5 separate regions of the Homo sapiens genome follow, and all the other regions are linked to region 3. The links are contacts of gene promoters, found by promoter capture Hi-C in blood cells and fetal thymus (Javierre and others, 2016). All regions are on one chromosome and are shown on one strand. The core of a region is centred on a gene start or on the middle of the fragment in contact, and the rest is flanking DNA. Distances in the headings are between cores, read along the strand shown.

Evidence for each region. The method cuts DNA at HindIII sites, captures the fragments that hold promoters and counts their contacts. A CHiCAGO score of 5 or more calls a contact.
Region 1: a fragment that was not itself captured here is called in contact with the fragment with the promoter of TP63 in region 3 in 1 of 17 cell types (activated CD4 T cells); the score reaches 5.1 in activated CD4 T cells.
Region 2: a fragment that was not itself captured here is called in contact with the fragment with the promoter of TP63 in region 3 in 3 of 17 cell types (naive CD8 T cells, activated CD4 T cells and non-activated CD4 T cells); the score reaches 7.1 in naive CD8 T cells.
Region 4: a contact is called between a fragment that was not itself captured here and the fragment with the promoter of TP63 in region 3, in 1 of 17 cell types (activated CD4 T cells). The highest score is 5.0, in activated CD4 T cells.
Region 5: a fragment that was not itself captured here is called in contact with the fragment with the promoter of TP63 in region 3 in 1 of 17 cell types (megakaryocytes); the score reaches 5.0 in megakaryocytes.

What each region holds. Positions count from the first base shown.
Region 1 is chr3:189,321,763-189,324,462 of GRCh38, forward strand. TPRG1 (tumor protein p63 regulated 1) reads left to right here. Exons shown (of 6, transcript NM_198485.4): 6 at 1-2,700. Among named protein-coding and RNA genes, the nearest start is that of TPRG1-AS2, 83 kb to the left of the region's middle. RefSeq lists an enhancer at 2,304-2,700. The HindIII fragment of the contact is 1,634 bases long and covers 487-2,120 here.
Region 2 is chr3:189,279,851-189,282,550 of GRCh38, forward strand. The region is part of intron 4 of TPRG1 (tumor protein p63 regulated 1); the gene reads left to right. Among named protein-coding and RNA genes, the nearest start is that of TPRG1-AS2, 41 kb to the left of the region's middle. The HindIII fragment of the contact is 1,074 bases long and covers 770-1,843 here.
Region 3 is chr3:189,629,942-189,632,641 of GRCh38, forward strand. TP63 (tumor protein p63) reads left to right here and starts at 1,448. Exons shown (of 14, transcript NM_003722.5): 1 at 1,448-1,636. The coding sequence starts at 1,575. RefSeq lists a promoter at 763-1,572 and a cis regulatory region at 965-975. The HindIII fragment of the contact is 1,324 bases long and covers 821-2,144 here.
Region 4 is chr3:189,243,118-189,245,817 of GRCh38, forward strand. All of the region lies in intron 4 of TPRG1 (tumor protein p63 regulated 1), which reads left to right. Among named protein-coding and RNA genes, the nearest start is that of TPRG1-AS2, 3.9 kb to the left of the region's middle. The HindIII fragment of the contact is 4,979 bases long and covers 1-2,700 here.
Region 5 is chr3:189,952,278-189,954,977 of GRCh38, forward strand. No RefSeq gene overlaps it. Among named protein-coding and RNA genes, the nearest start is that of MIR944, 120 kb to the left of the region's middle. The HindIII fragment of the contact is 2,124 bases long and covers 224-2,347 here.

The sequences.
Region 1 (2,700 bases), core at 54-2,553, 310 kb before region 3:
TTGTAGAAGCAGCATATACGAAGCAGATAAAAGTAGGTTCAATGCGGTTGGAGTGAAGATGAGAATGCCACAGGCATCTTTCTTTCTAGGCCTCAGAGGTGCTGCATATGGAATGTCCATGGATCGCAGAGGGTTTTGAAGACCATGTTTTCAAAAACACTGTCTTAACACTCTATTGTCATTGCTCTTTTCCCTCTTATTTCCTCTTTGTCTCTTCCCGACTTAGATCTAATTTTCAACAACCCAGGAAATTATCTCATATGTTTGCATCTCTCAAGTTTCTTTTCTTTTTTCTTTCAGAGTCTTATTTTATCTAAATTTATGTAGAAAAAAAAGCTTTGAATGTTGACTACATAGACATTACTACAATAAGCTTTTTGCCTTTCCCAAGACTCAAAATTGACACATCTTTGTTGATGTTTAAGTTGAAATTCCAGCCAACTTTTTTTTGACTTTTATGTGAAGTTTAAAGTCTTTTCTTTGAAAAGCTTGCTTCCTCAATTTCAAAGATTTGTCCTCTGATATATTTATAAACATCAATTTAATGCAGACATTCAAACCCTAAACCTTGAATAACTCTTATTTTATTTTGTCTTTGTTTACTTCCATTAATTTTTTTTTCTTTCCCTCTCTTCCGCCTTTACAGCACCCACTTTTTCTTCCCCCCATGATGGCAAATATTGTTATAGTCCCCAAGGCAGGGAACTTCTATTCAGACTGTAAAAGGAAATGTTGAAATCCATAGCTGTCCTGTCAACAGTAGTGGAATGAAAAGTCGTTGGATTGTTTTGGCACTGGTTCTGAAGCAGGCATAATTGGCAAATTATTATAATACTGCTGCCCGAAAATCCCCATTTGCCTCAAGATAGTGGCATTTATTGGCAGAAGCCTCTGAAATGTCCAGCACATTCTTTTGAGTTACCATTTAAGGATCAGCCTGACAATCGACTTCTCTCTGCACATTTGCCCCCTTTGTAACCTAAGCCAGACTGTTCCCAAATGACCTTCTAAAGGACACAGTGCACCATCATCAATGGAAACAGTTCAGAAAGGATGACAGGAGGGAGATGTTTCTTAGTTCTGAGAGCCAGTCTGTAACAATGGGATAAGCATTTAATGGAATCAAAGCTGTTTTGCATAAAGAGTGAACTCAGAGACGACAAGAGGGTCTTTATGAATTCCCTTCACATTTTGTAAAAACTGTCATATATAGGCTATCCCCTTAATTGATAAATGGGATCTAGAAAGCGGTATTATGACCAGAGGGTGAGAAGATTTAGGAATTTGGATAGCAGTTCAAGATAAGAAAGAACTTCTTATAGTTATAAATTTTCAATGATGGAATGGGTTGCTTCTTTAAACAGTGAGCCCACCATCACTTGGTATGTTCAAGGAAAGACTAGATAAAGTCGATATTGTGAGAGGAATTGCTGTATGATACCGTTTGGAGAAATGATTGACATAATCTTTTAAGGCCGGTGACCCTATCATTTTCCAAATAATTGTTGCTAGTACTTAGTTAATTAGACCCATTTTTTTCTTAGGAAAGAGTTGGATCAATCATGGGAGACCCTGAAAAATTTCCTTACCTTTCCTAAGGTTTAATTTCCTCTTCTGCGAAATGGAGACAATTATATTACTTTTGCTTATTTCATAAAGATCTTGTGAGGATTCAATGAAATGAGGTTAAATTCTTTTATTAAACAGAAAGTTTTGAGTATTTGCCTAGAGAGTGATGTGACTTTTGCAGCAGAAGGTGGGAAAACATCCAAGGGAACTACATTTCCTCCAGAAATTGTTTCTTCATTACCATCGACCTACTGATTATGGTTTTCTCATTTTACACTTGGTGTTCTTACTTGGGATCTTTGTCCTTAAGCTCAACAGGGAGCCACAACCCAGGGGACCTATGTGTACACTTGGAGTTTTTATCAGACTATCATTTGAACTTACCACTACAGTTTAGCAAATGGCATGATGAGTTTGATTGATAATAGGAGTAGACGCAAGATACATTAAGTAGAGTACAAAGCATTTCATAACCAAAATGTCATGGTTGGAGGTCTTCATTATTCGGTCTTTATCTCATTCAGGAATTTCCACTTGAAAAATCTCTGATAAGCTTTATTTCAGAAACTGCTTGAACAGCTCCACTGACAAATGCCTCACTATCTTCTGATACATCGTAGGCAGTTCTGAGGGTGAGAAAGTTCAAAGCAGATAGATGTTTTAACACAACAGGAGGACTTTTAAACAATCACCAGGACTCACTCCTCGGTGGTCAATTGGGCCTGTTTGGAGGCCTGACCTTTGGTCATCTTAAGGTCATCTAAGGCAGAAAAGAGAAGCTCACTTATAAGTTGGCACTTCTGAATCATTTGCCTTGAGGTCCATTTTTTATTCAGCCTTTGTTTAAACCTTCTTAGGAAGCCAGTTTGTAGAGTTCTGGGGATAAGAAGGCAGAAAAACCATGTCAATTCAGTGCTTTTATTTCACAGAAAATGAAGCAAAGGCCTAGAAACTAGAAAGACATTTCTCAAAAAGAAGATGGTGAACTTTTGGAAATACTGAGATTAGACTACATTTTCCAATTTCTATCCCTAGCCCACTGCTCTTTCCAATATAATATCTGTATTCCATGGGAAAGACATGCCATCTGAATTGATGTATCGTAGTTGTTGAGATAATTTTGAAATGAGA
Region 2 (2,700 bases), core at 57-2,556, 350 kb before region 3:
AATTCCTTCTCTAATAAGATGTTTATGAAAAGTTATAGGGGTGTATGAATGAACGGGAAAACTGAATGTAGTCCTTCAGATAGGCAGAAGAGTTAGAGGAAAAGTTAGAATATTTGGTAGATCACGGGTCTTTATCTGGAAAACCTCTGAGCGGGATTGGTAGCCACTTCCCATTATGGTATGGTTGGATAGAATTCCTGCTGTGGAAAATAAGAGGGATTAGTGATATTAGACTATCTCTTTTGTAGCTCAGGGACTTATCTGTTAACATATATCTCATATCAGCACCTGTTGTTTAGCCCTGTTGTAAACAACAGGACTAGCACCATAGTGGTTAGTGAAGAGTGTAGAGTGAAAGCAGCCACGGGCAATATAGAAGTGAATGAATGCACCTGTGGATATACATAAATGAATGGAATAATATATATAAATGAATGGATATATATAAATGAATGGAATAATATATATAAATGAATGGAAGACATTTTAGATGACGAACTAGGACTTACTGAACATTGACTTCTTTCCGTATAGGATAAAATGTTTTTTGTAAGTATGAGTGTCATGAATGAGAGGAGACTCAGTTCATATAACATGTGTATTAATAATAGGAATTGAAAAACTTAGAGCTTTTTTATGCCCCTCTTTCCTACTTTATCTTGTATCTTTCCACTCCTCTAAGCTGCAGCATTGAGACCCATATCTAAAACTTCTCTACATGCACCTAAACAGGACCAATGGAAACCTATGCACATGGAGGCCAACAAGAAGCTTGGGGAAGGTAAAGGGAAGGTGATTGCCATAACAGAAAGAACACAGGACTCGAAGACAGATAGCCTGGGTTAAAGCTGTAACCCTACCATGGCTATTTCTCTTACCTGAGGCAAATTAATTCACCTCTCTGAGTCTTGGATTTGCTCTGTAATATATGAATGATACTATCTGCATCATAGCGTTGTATTAAAGATTAAGGGATATAATACATGTAGCAGACAGTTTTGATTGCCTACCCAACAATCACTTATGCCCTTCCCCCATCCTAAGCAGAACCACTTTTAACTACGTATCTATTCTCCTTCGGGAGACCCATGAGATTCAGGAAAGGTGGTCTGCAGCCCCAGGAGAAGAATGATGGCAAGCTCTCCTACATGTCAGTTAGTGTCTTAGCCATGACTGTATGACCCAATTCAGGCCCAATAACTGACATGTTATAGGACTTGCCATCAACCAAATGCTGTTAAAATGTCTTTACATACATTAACTCATTTAACACACTATAAGGTAGATACTATTATTCATTTCACAAATGAGGAAGCTAACGAATAGAGAGGTTAAGGAACTGCTTCAAGGAAACACAGCTAATAAATGGTAAAGCAAGGTCCACACCTAGGAGTCTGATCCCAGACTATGTGCTCCTAACCACTGAGCAATATCACTTCCCACAAATGTGAAAATCTCCTAGTAAACTTAAGGAAAACATGTTCTTTATTGATTAAAAAAATGGGAAGAAGTCCTACATTGTTGGGTCTGTATGTGAAACTTCGTACACCTTTAGCCATGTTACTACCCTGAGAGGAACTACAGTGAAATGTAGAGGACAGCAAAACAGAAAGATGAAAATATTTTTTGTTTAAAAATGTCATTTATATCCTGAGCCAATCACCCATTGAACTATGTTATCGTGGATGCATATGTGTGTGTGTGCACGTGAGTGTGTATAAGAGATATGGAGACATTTTTTATCCTAATTATATGACATGTAATTTTATAAATATAAAATCATAATATAAGAAGTATTTTTTTCATCTTTCTTAATGTATAAATCCAAGCTAAAGCTATGGTAAGCTTGTTTTCACAAAGATTGAGCACTAGTTGAGTTAGTAAATTTGTCCTCAATGACTTTACCTTTCTGGTTTGACATGTTTTCCATCTCAAGGCACCTACTGACTTCATCATTTCTTCTTTTACTCCAAGGTCTAAACCAGCTCCCAGAAAAGACCTTGAAAGACACCCACAAGAGGATTTTATTTTTATTTTTTATTTTTTTGGAGACAGAGTCTCTCTCTGTCGCCCAGGCTAGAGTGCAGTGGCATGATCTCAGCTCACTGCAACCTCTGCCTCCCAGGCTCAAGCAATTCTCATGCCTCAGCTTCCTGAGTAGCTGGGACTATAGGCACCCACCACCACGCTTGTCTAATTTTTTGTATTTTAGTAGAGACAAGGTTTCACCATGTTGCCCAAGGTGGTCTTGAACTCATGAGCTCAGGCAATCCGCCCGCCTTGGCTGAGGTTTTTAAATATTTGCAAATAGACCGAAAAAGTTTCTTAACCCAGGGCAATGTCAGTAGGCATAATAGTCCTTTCCAAAAAAAAAAAAAAAAAGGCAGCAGCATAGGTAGTGGAATCTTAGGCATCAGTGGATAACATGGTGTTATTTTGGGCAGTGGGTCAGCCAGGTGCTCCATAAGTCATATCTTGTAGGCGTTTGTTCTTTCAGCAAGCCAGGCCAGCTCTGGTTGCTACTTCTACATACTCTTCTAACACCTGTATTTGCCTGAACATGCAGTTCAAAAGACAGAGAGAGTGGGGGAGAGGGTATTAAACGTGTATTTTGTGCCTCATTTTTTGTCCCATTTCCTCTTCCATCTCTCTCCTTTTTGTTAATTCTTTCTTCCTCTCTCCCCCTTTTCTCTCGTTCTC
Region 3 (2,700 bases), core at 198-2,697:
TTACATTTTGTGGAGCAAGCTGTTTGATTTGGCTGGGGCTCAGGCTGGCCTGTTTGTGAATTTCACAATTCACAGATGTTAGCCGCTCTCGGGCTAAGTAAAGGAAGAGAATGTCAAGTTTTAAATAGCTTCTCCCTTCCATCCTGGCTGAAGCAACAAATAAAATATTTTTATGAAACACATTTTGAGTTAGATTTACTTACAGGGAAATGTCAAATTTCTCTGAAAGGGCTTTAGATTGTCTCACAACTTTGACATCTACTGATGTCACCTATTTACAGGTGTGTCCTGTGACTAGGGGGTGAAGGGAAGATGTGAACTCACCATGTTAGTGACCGTTAGATACACAGAGTGGTTTTTTTTCCCCCTGTTGGAGTCTATCCTAACTGAGCTTCTGAATCATATTTCATTCAATTTCCAAATCCACAAAACCAGGATAAGTTTACAGCCCATATTCAGAAAGGAAATAAATTATTTTGTGTGTAGACTTTCCTGATATTACACTGATTTGGGAATATATGAACAATTTTATGGTTTCCTTTCGAAGTAGGTCAAGTCAAAGCAAAACCAAAAACAGCAAAAACTGTAAGACATAAAGAATAGAGTGGAGCCGACTGAGAGATTAAAATAAACTAGAATATTTTTATTAACAGGCAATTTGAAATAATTTGTGCACTTCAGAATATTCTACAATAATATATTATTTCCAATTTTAATATCTTTAAGAAAATTACTATATTATATGTAAGTACATGTGCATGTGTTTGAGGTAGGATATTTAACTCAATAAAGGTTATTTTCTTTTATTCGGGTCAGGCAAAGCTTCTAAGGGGATGTGAAAGGGATATCTCTTTCTCTTAGCTGAGAGGAAGAGTGAGTTCTAAGTTAAATATAATCAAGGAATTTCCCTGTCTTTGCTATTTGAGATTGTGACCACAACAGGCGGTTGGCTGAAAGGGAAACTGAAGGGCGGGGAGGGAGGGAAATAGATGAAAAAACAAAACAAAACAAAACTTCCCTAAGCAGCTCTACAAAACATTTTAGCCCCAGAAATAGTCACAGAAATCCTCAAATCAAACCAGTATCCAGATACAAGGAAGTGTTATGTAGCTGGAGCAGGGTGGACACTCATCAGCTCAGTTCAGTTACAAAAGTCCAGGCTGCTGAAATTAAACTCTGATGCCATTCATGCCAGCATCCAATCACGACAGAGATCAGAAGTTCAGAGATGCCTCCAGCTCCAAATTGCCAACAACAAGTGTGGCTACTATACGTCAAGGACTCTGAAGCCGTGAGAGAGGGGGAAGAACAACAGTAGAGAGGATGCCCAGCTGGTAAGAATCGAGTGTTTATGAAGTTTTAGTCAATTGATGAATCTCATTGGCTAAAATCAAGAAACGCTCCGCCTCTTTGCAAATATGTATGAAGGAGAGAAGTGCCTAAACTTCTATGTCTGATAGCATTTGACCCTATTGCTTTTAGCCTCCCGGCTTTATATCTATATATACACAGGTATATGTGTATATTTTATATAATTGTTCTCCGTTCGTTGATATCAAAGACAGTTGAAGGAAATGAATTTTGAAACTTCACGGTGTGCCACCCTACAGTACTGCCCTGACCCTTACATCCAGCGGTGAGTTTGAATGTGACATAACTTCTCTCAAAACTTAATTGAAGTGCCTTGTGTATTATGAATGTGTCAGCTGTGTACAAAGAACAATTCCTCCTTGTTTAGTCAGCACAGTGATATTATTTTGGACTTTCTGTGGACTTAAAGTGGTCTGTGGACATATTTTCTGAATGTCTTTTTTGGTTGATATTTGGATCTACAAAGTGAAAAAATTTGAAGCGAATCTTCCCATTTAAAAAAAATTATCACGCCATTTAAGAATGTTTAAAATATATTATTTGCCTTGTTCAGCACCTACTCACTCAATAAGAAATTTCACTGGGCAGGGATATAATAATGTATGGATAATCTTCAAGTCAAAATAAACACCAAATAATTTTGATTTATACATTAAGAAATAGATAACTAGCCATTGTTGTACCAAACAGATTGTGGCTTGTCATTGCATTTTATAAGGAATATTTTTTGGTATGTTTGATAATGAAAATCTTTTGACAAATCTGACTTTTAAAGCTTGTGATTGTAGTAAATTTTATTTAGAAACATTTGCCTAGTACTAAGAGAGAATATTAGTGAGGGTGCACAATTGTGTATGTGCTTCAAATTAGACTTTGCTATTTTTAAACTGGTAAATGAAATCTGAACAGTGTTTTTCCAGTCATAAAGTTATGGGAGATATTCAAGTCATATGTAGCAATGTGATGTTAGTTTAACAGCATGAGATTTCGTACTTTATTTTATAAGACTAATGAGAGAGGTCCTTTGCGTGTTGAAAATGGTGAGGTTACAAAGGGTTAACTTGCCATTTACCACCTGTGTCTGTTGGAGCTTGATACTAGAAGCAGATTCTGCTCTCTCTGGGCAGGACTCACTTACTGTAGACTAGTAGAGTGTGAAAGATTTGTGATCTTCCTTTAACGTGATTTGCTACAACGTAGAACACTAATGTGAGCTATGTAGATTGTTTCTCTTCCTGTGAGGTTTCTGGTGGGTTGTGCGAAAAGGCAGAAGAGAAAGAGCAAGGCAGAAAGATAAATAGAATAAAGGAGATAAAAAGAAAAGGGTGA
Region 4 (2,700 bases), core at 132-2,631, 390 kb before region 3:
TCTGCAGGTTATACAGGAAGCATAATGGATTCCACTTCTGTGGAGGCCTTAGGAAATTTCTAATCATGGCAGAAAACAAAGGGGGAGTGAGGCATCTTGCATAGTGGGAGCAGGAGCAAGAGAGAGAGGGGTAGGTGCTACATACTTCTAAGTGACCAGATCTCACTATTGTGAGGACAATACAAAGAGGATGATACCCATTCCTGCTAAATCTGCCCTCATAATCCAATCACCTCCCATTAGGCCCCACTTCTAACACTGGGGGTTTAGTCCTCCTAGGCCTCAGGACCTGTGATGGGAGGACCCCCCAAGGAGGTCTCTAAAATGCCTGTGAGTTGTTTTCCCTATTGTCCTGGCTATGAGCATTTGCTCCTTTTTATATATGCAAACTTCTGAAGCCTACCTGAATTCTTCCCCTGAAAATTGGCTTTTTTTTTTCCTACCATATGGCCAGTCTTCAAATTTTCCAACTTTTATGCTGTTTCTTCTTTAAACATGAGTCCAACTTTAAGTCATTTCTTTGCTCATATGTATGAGTATAGGTTCTTAGAAGCAGCCAGGTCACATCTTGAATGTGTTGATGCTTAGAAATTTCTTCCACTAGATAATCCTAAATCATCACTCTCAAGTTGAAACTTCCACAGATACCTAGGGCAGAGGCACAGTGCAGCCAAGTTCCTTGCTAAGGCATAACAAAAGTGACCTTTGCTCCAGTTCCAAATAAGTTTCTCATTTACATTTGAGACTTAATTAGCCTGGCTTTCACTGTCTATATCACTATCAGCATTTTGGTGATAACCACTCAGCCAGTCTCTAGAAAGTTCCAAACGTTTCCTCATCCTCCTGTCTTCTTCTGAACCCTCTAAACTCATTCAACCTCTGCCTGTTACCCAATTTCAAAGTTGCTTCCATATTTTTAGGTATCTTTATAGTAATGCCCTATTCCTGGTACCAATTTTCTGTATTATTCTGTTCTCTCATTGCTATAAAGAAATATCTGCGACTGGGTAATTTATTAAAAAAAGAGGTTTGCCGTGTGCAATGGCTCACACCTGTAATCCCAGCACTTTGGGAGGCCAAGGTGGATGGATCACTTGAGGTCAGGAGTTCGAGACCACCCTAGCCAACATGGTGAAACCCCGTTTCTATTAAAAATACAAAAATTAGCCAGGCATGATGGTGCATGCCTGTAATCCCAGGCTGAGACAGGAGAATTGCTTGAACCTGGGAGGTGGAGATTTCAGTGAGCCAAGATCGAGCCACTGCACTCCAGCCTGGGTGACAGAGATGAGACTCCATCTCAAAAAAAGAAGAAAAAAAAGAGGTTTAATTGGTTCAGAGTTCTGCAGACTATACAGAAACTTCTGTTTCTAGAGAGGCCTCAGGAAGTTTCCAATCATGGCAGAAGGAAAAAGGGAACAAGGCATCTCACATGGTAGGAGCAGGAGCAAGAGAGAAAGTGGGGAGATGCTACACACTTTTAAATGACCAGATCTTACAAGAACTCACTCACTATCATGAGGAGAGTACCAAGAGGATGGCATTAAACCATTCCTGAGAAATAGGCCCCCATGATCCAATCATCTTCCATCAGGCCCCACCTCCAACACTGGGGATTACAATTCAAGATGAGAATTGGTGGGGACACAGATCCAAACCATATCAGTGATCTGTGTCTTCCCTCTTTTTTCTCTTCTGTTGATGATCATACCAATTCTGTTGGTTTTTAACAAGATCATGCTTTTCACTTGGTTAACTTTTACTATTGTTTTGCTAATTACTAATTAGTTGATCTCTATCTCTGCTCTCTTTTTTTGTTGTTGAGGCAGTTTCACTCTTGTTGCCCAAGCTGGAGTGCAACGGTATGATCTTGGCTCACCGCAGCCTCCACCTCCGGAGTTCAAGCGATTCTCCTGCCTCAGCCTCCCAAGTAGCTGAGATTACAGGCAGGTGCCACCATGCCCAGCTAATTTTTTGTATTTTTAGTAGAGATGGAGTTTCTCCATGTTGGTCAGGCTGGTCTTGAACTCTCGACCTCAGGTGATCCGCCTGCCTTGGCCTCTCAAAGTACTGGGATTACAGGTGTGAGCCACTGCGCCCGGTTCATTTCTACTCTTTTCCTTATTATTTCCTTTCTTCTACTTTGGGTTTACTTTTTCTTTTTTTAACTTCTTGAAGTGCAGCCCAAGGTTATTGATTTTAAACTTTCCTAATATGAACATCTACAGTTATAAATTTCCTTTTAAGTACTACTTTTGCTGCTTCCCAGAGATTTTGATATGTTGTGTGTCTATTATCATTTAGAGATATTTTTAAATTTTTCTTGTGATTTTCCTCTTGACCCATGGATGCATTGTAAGTTGTATTGGCTAATTTCCAAATATTTCAGGTTTTTATAGATATCTTAATTATACTTAATTCTAATTTAGAGAGCATACTGTCTTTAATTTTATTCCTTACTGATACTTTCGGATTTGTTTTATGAAGCTCATTATGATATATCTTTGTGAATTTGTCATGTACACTTGAATTTTATTTGTAGTTTTTTACAAATATCAATTGGGATATTGTGTTTGATAATGCTATTTAGATTATATATATTTTTACTGATTTTTTGTGTAGTTTTTTAATAGTTACTGAGTGGAGTGCAAAAATCTATCACTGTGGAATTTTCTAGTTTTCTTTTTAATTTTGTTAACT
Region 5 (2,700 bases), core at 36-2,535, 320 kb after region 3:
GATAACATTTTATTCATCTTTAAATGCCTCCCTAAGCCTACAACGGCACGGCCACTCAAAAACTCTCTGTGAAATGAATTCATACATGACCAGGGCTTTACGACATCACCTTCTCTGTGCCTGTTTGTTTTTTCCCATTTACACAATGAAGATGGCATTGACGTGTCTCTCAAGATAATTATGTAGTTACATATGATTGCTACGTGCTTCAAGACCATAAAAAAGCTTTATAAAGCCAACCACGATTACAACCTTTGAAACAATGGAATATACGATTAACAAGTGGAAAGAGATGAGACATACCAGGTAATGCTTATTGTCCATTCCCTATTTCTACCTCCACCCACCACCAGGTAGTAACTCAGAGGTAAAAACATAAACTTGGAATAAGAGAGGAGGGTTTACCTCGGGTCTGGATAAGATTATTAGGACCGATGTCATCACGCTGCCGTCATGCGGGAAGGCACCTAGGTCTGATGAGAGAGGCCCAGGGCAAGATTCCCATATATATAGGTAACACTCAATTCACTGTTGAAATGAGGCTCAAATCAAGAAGGCACGTGGCCTTATCTATTCGAAATTGATTCGTCCTTCAAAAGCAGAAGATATCAGATAATTATAAAAGGGACTGTTAAGGTAGAAAGACTGTCAAACTCTAGGCTACCCTGGCTCTCCTCTGTGGCCATTCTACCAAAATAAAGAGAGGGGGTACAGCATGTCTTATTCACCTTTTGTTCTCCCTTCTCCTAAATGTACCATATAAAATGACTAGAAAACATGTGTCATATGTTGACTAAACGAAGCATTCATTTAGATTTTCCTCCCCAGCAACATGTCTGGAAAAAAAATGATAGGAACATCTTGTTTGGTTATTTTTATTGCGGGCCCTTAATAAGATAGTTGAAGCCAGAGGTGCCTCATTAACCCAACTTTTTACAGCTGATGCCATCCATTGTAGAGTGAAACAGAATCAATAGTCAGATTGTTCCCAACTTGGCTTTGCCCAGCCTCGGAGGTCAGCAGTGGGCACAGAAAACACTGTGAATTACAAGGAGGAGGAGGTAAAGGGGAAGCTCTGACAGAATGAGTCTGCAGCTCCAACCCAGCAGTGAGCTCAATGAGTGGCTGATGTTACTTGTTTTGATGTGTTTGAAGAAATCAACCAGGTTCAGGAGAAAAAAAAAAAAAAAAAAAGTCTATATGCCTCCTGTTGGAAACATCAAATTATCAGGGAGTAGAGGATTTGTGGGTGGGCAGTTGGAACTATGTGAGACGTCATTTCACATCACAGCCTTCTTGGCAGGAGGCAGAGAGGGCTTGTAACACGGACTTGTGGTCTGGAGTTTTTGCCAATGGCTCCTGTTTCCCTAAAGTGCTCTGGATGTGGGAACAGGTCAACATTTTCCCACTTCTCAGCCATACCACTGTCAGTCAGCTCAGAATGTTCAATGCTTTGGCATAAGGAACTGGTGAGGCGGCCCCCATTACCTCCTTTCTTGACGTCAGTGAGGGAGTCATTCCCTGTGGTTCTCTTGTGTGAAATAATTCAGCATTTGTACTTCAATTAAAATTCACAGGTATATATTATTAAATAGCACTGACTCATTCCATGGCTTCTCCTCAGCTGAGGAAGTGCCAAAAATGTTATGATGTCAATGATGAAGAGTGCATTAAAAGTCTTAAGAGTGCGTTAAAACTGAGATTTCCTTGTCAAACAATGTAGGTTCGGGGCTGTGAAGAAAGCACTTCGCCCATCCACAGTATCACTCTGTCCTGTGTCAGATTTTTCTAAAGAAGAAATTTAAGTTCAAGATTCTTTTTGCCTTTGAGGGAGAGAAAAATGATACCTGACTAGAATCCTCTTCCCTTTTGTGAGCTTCATAAAAGCAGTTCAAGGCTCAAGGTATGTCTTTAAAAATAGGGCTGAATCAAATTGAATAATACAACTCGTATTCAATATATCACAGAGGAGAGAAGAGGAAGTATGCCAACATACATCCCTCAGCAGGAAAATAAAAGAGGAGAAAAAGGTTTTCTTGATTTGGTAAAATCAGACTTTTTTATTCACATTTATTATTTTATATTTAATATGCCTAGAAGCACGGCCAGGGGAGCAACAACCCTGGTGCTCTTTTCTCCCTTCTGACCCAAAAGACTGTGCTTCTAGCTCAGACCTGGACACTCTGAGCCACGTGACCCCAGGTAATCACCTCTCTCCACTGCTCTCCATGTCCTCATCTGCAAAATGGACATCACGATCCATGCCCAGAATACCTCCTGGGGTTCCCAGTGTGTGAACATGCTCTGTGTCATAAGCATTCAAAACAATAATATAGGTGAAAATAAAAGCTTTGTGAGCTGCAGACTTTTCACACAAGGGAAGGATCATCACCAAGACCAACGGTAATTCCTCAGATAACACAGATGAGATGTACTATTCATACACATTGGACTATTTAACCTAGGCTGACTCAAGCACATTCAGCACTTCGTGAGAATTAGAAAAGACACCCTTTCTGGAAAGATATAGCCCTGCAGGTCCATAGATTGGTAAGCAAGTACCATCTCTGGGCAAATAGAATAAGACATCCCTTCCACCAGCTGGACAAAGCCCTGTGCCAGGGTTCCAGCCCCCATGTACACTCCCACAGGCATTCTTGCATAACCAAGTTCAACAGTCCTGGCTTTAGCTCTGGCTCT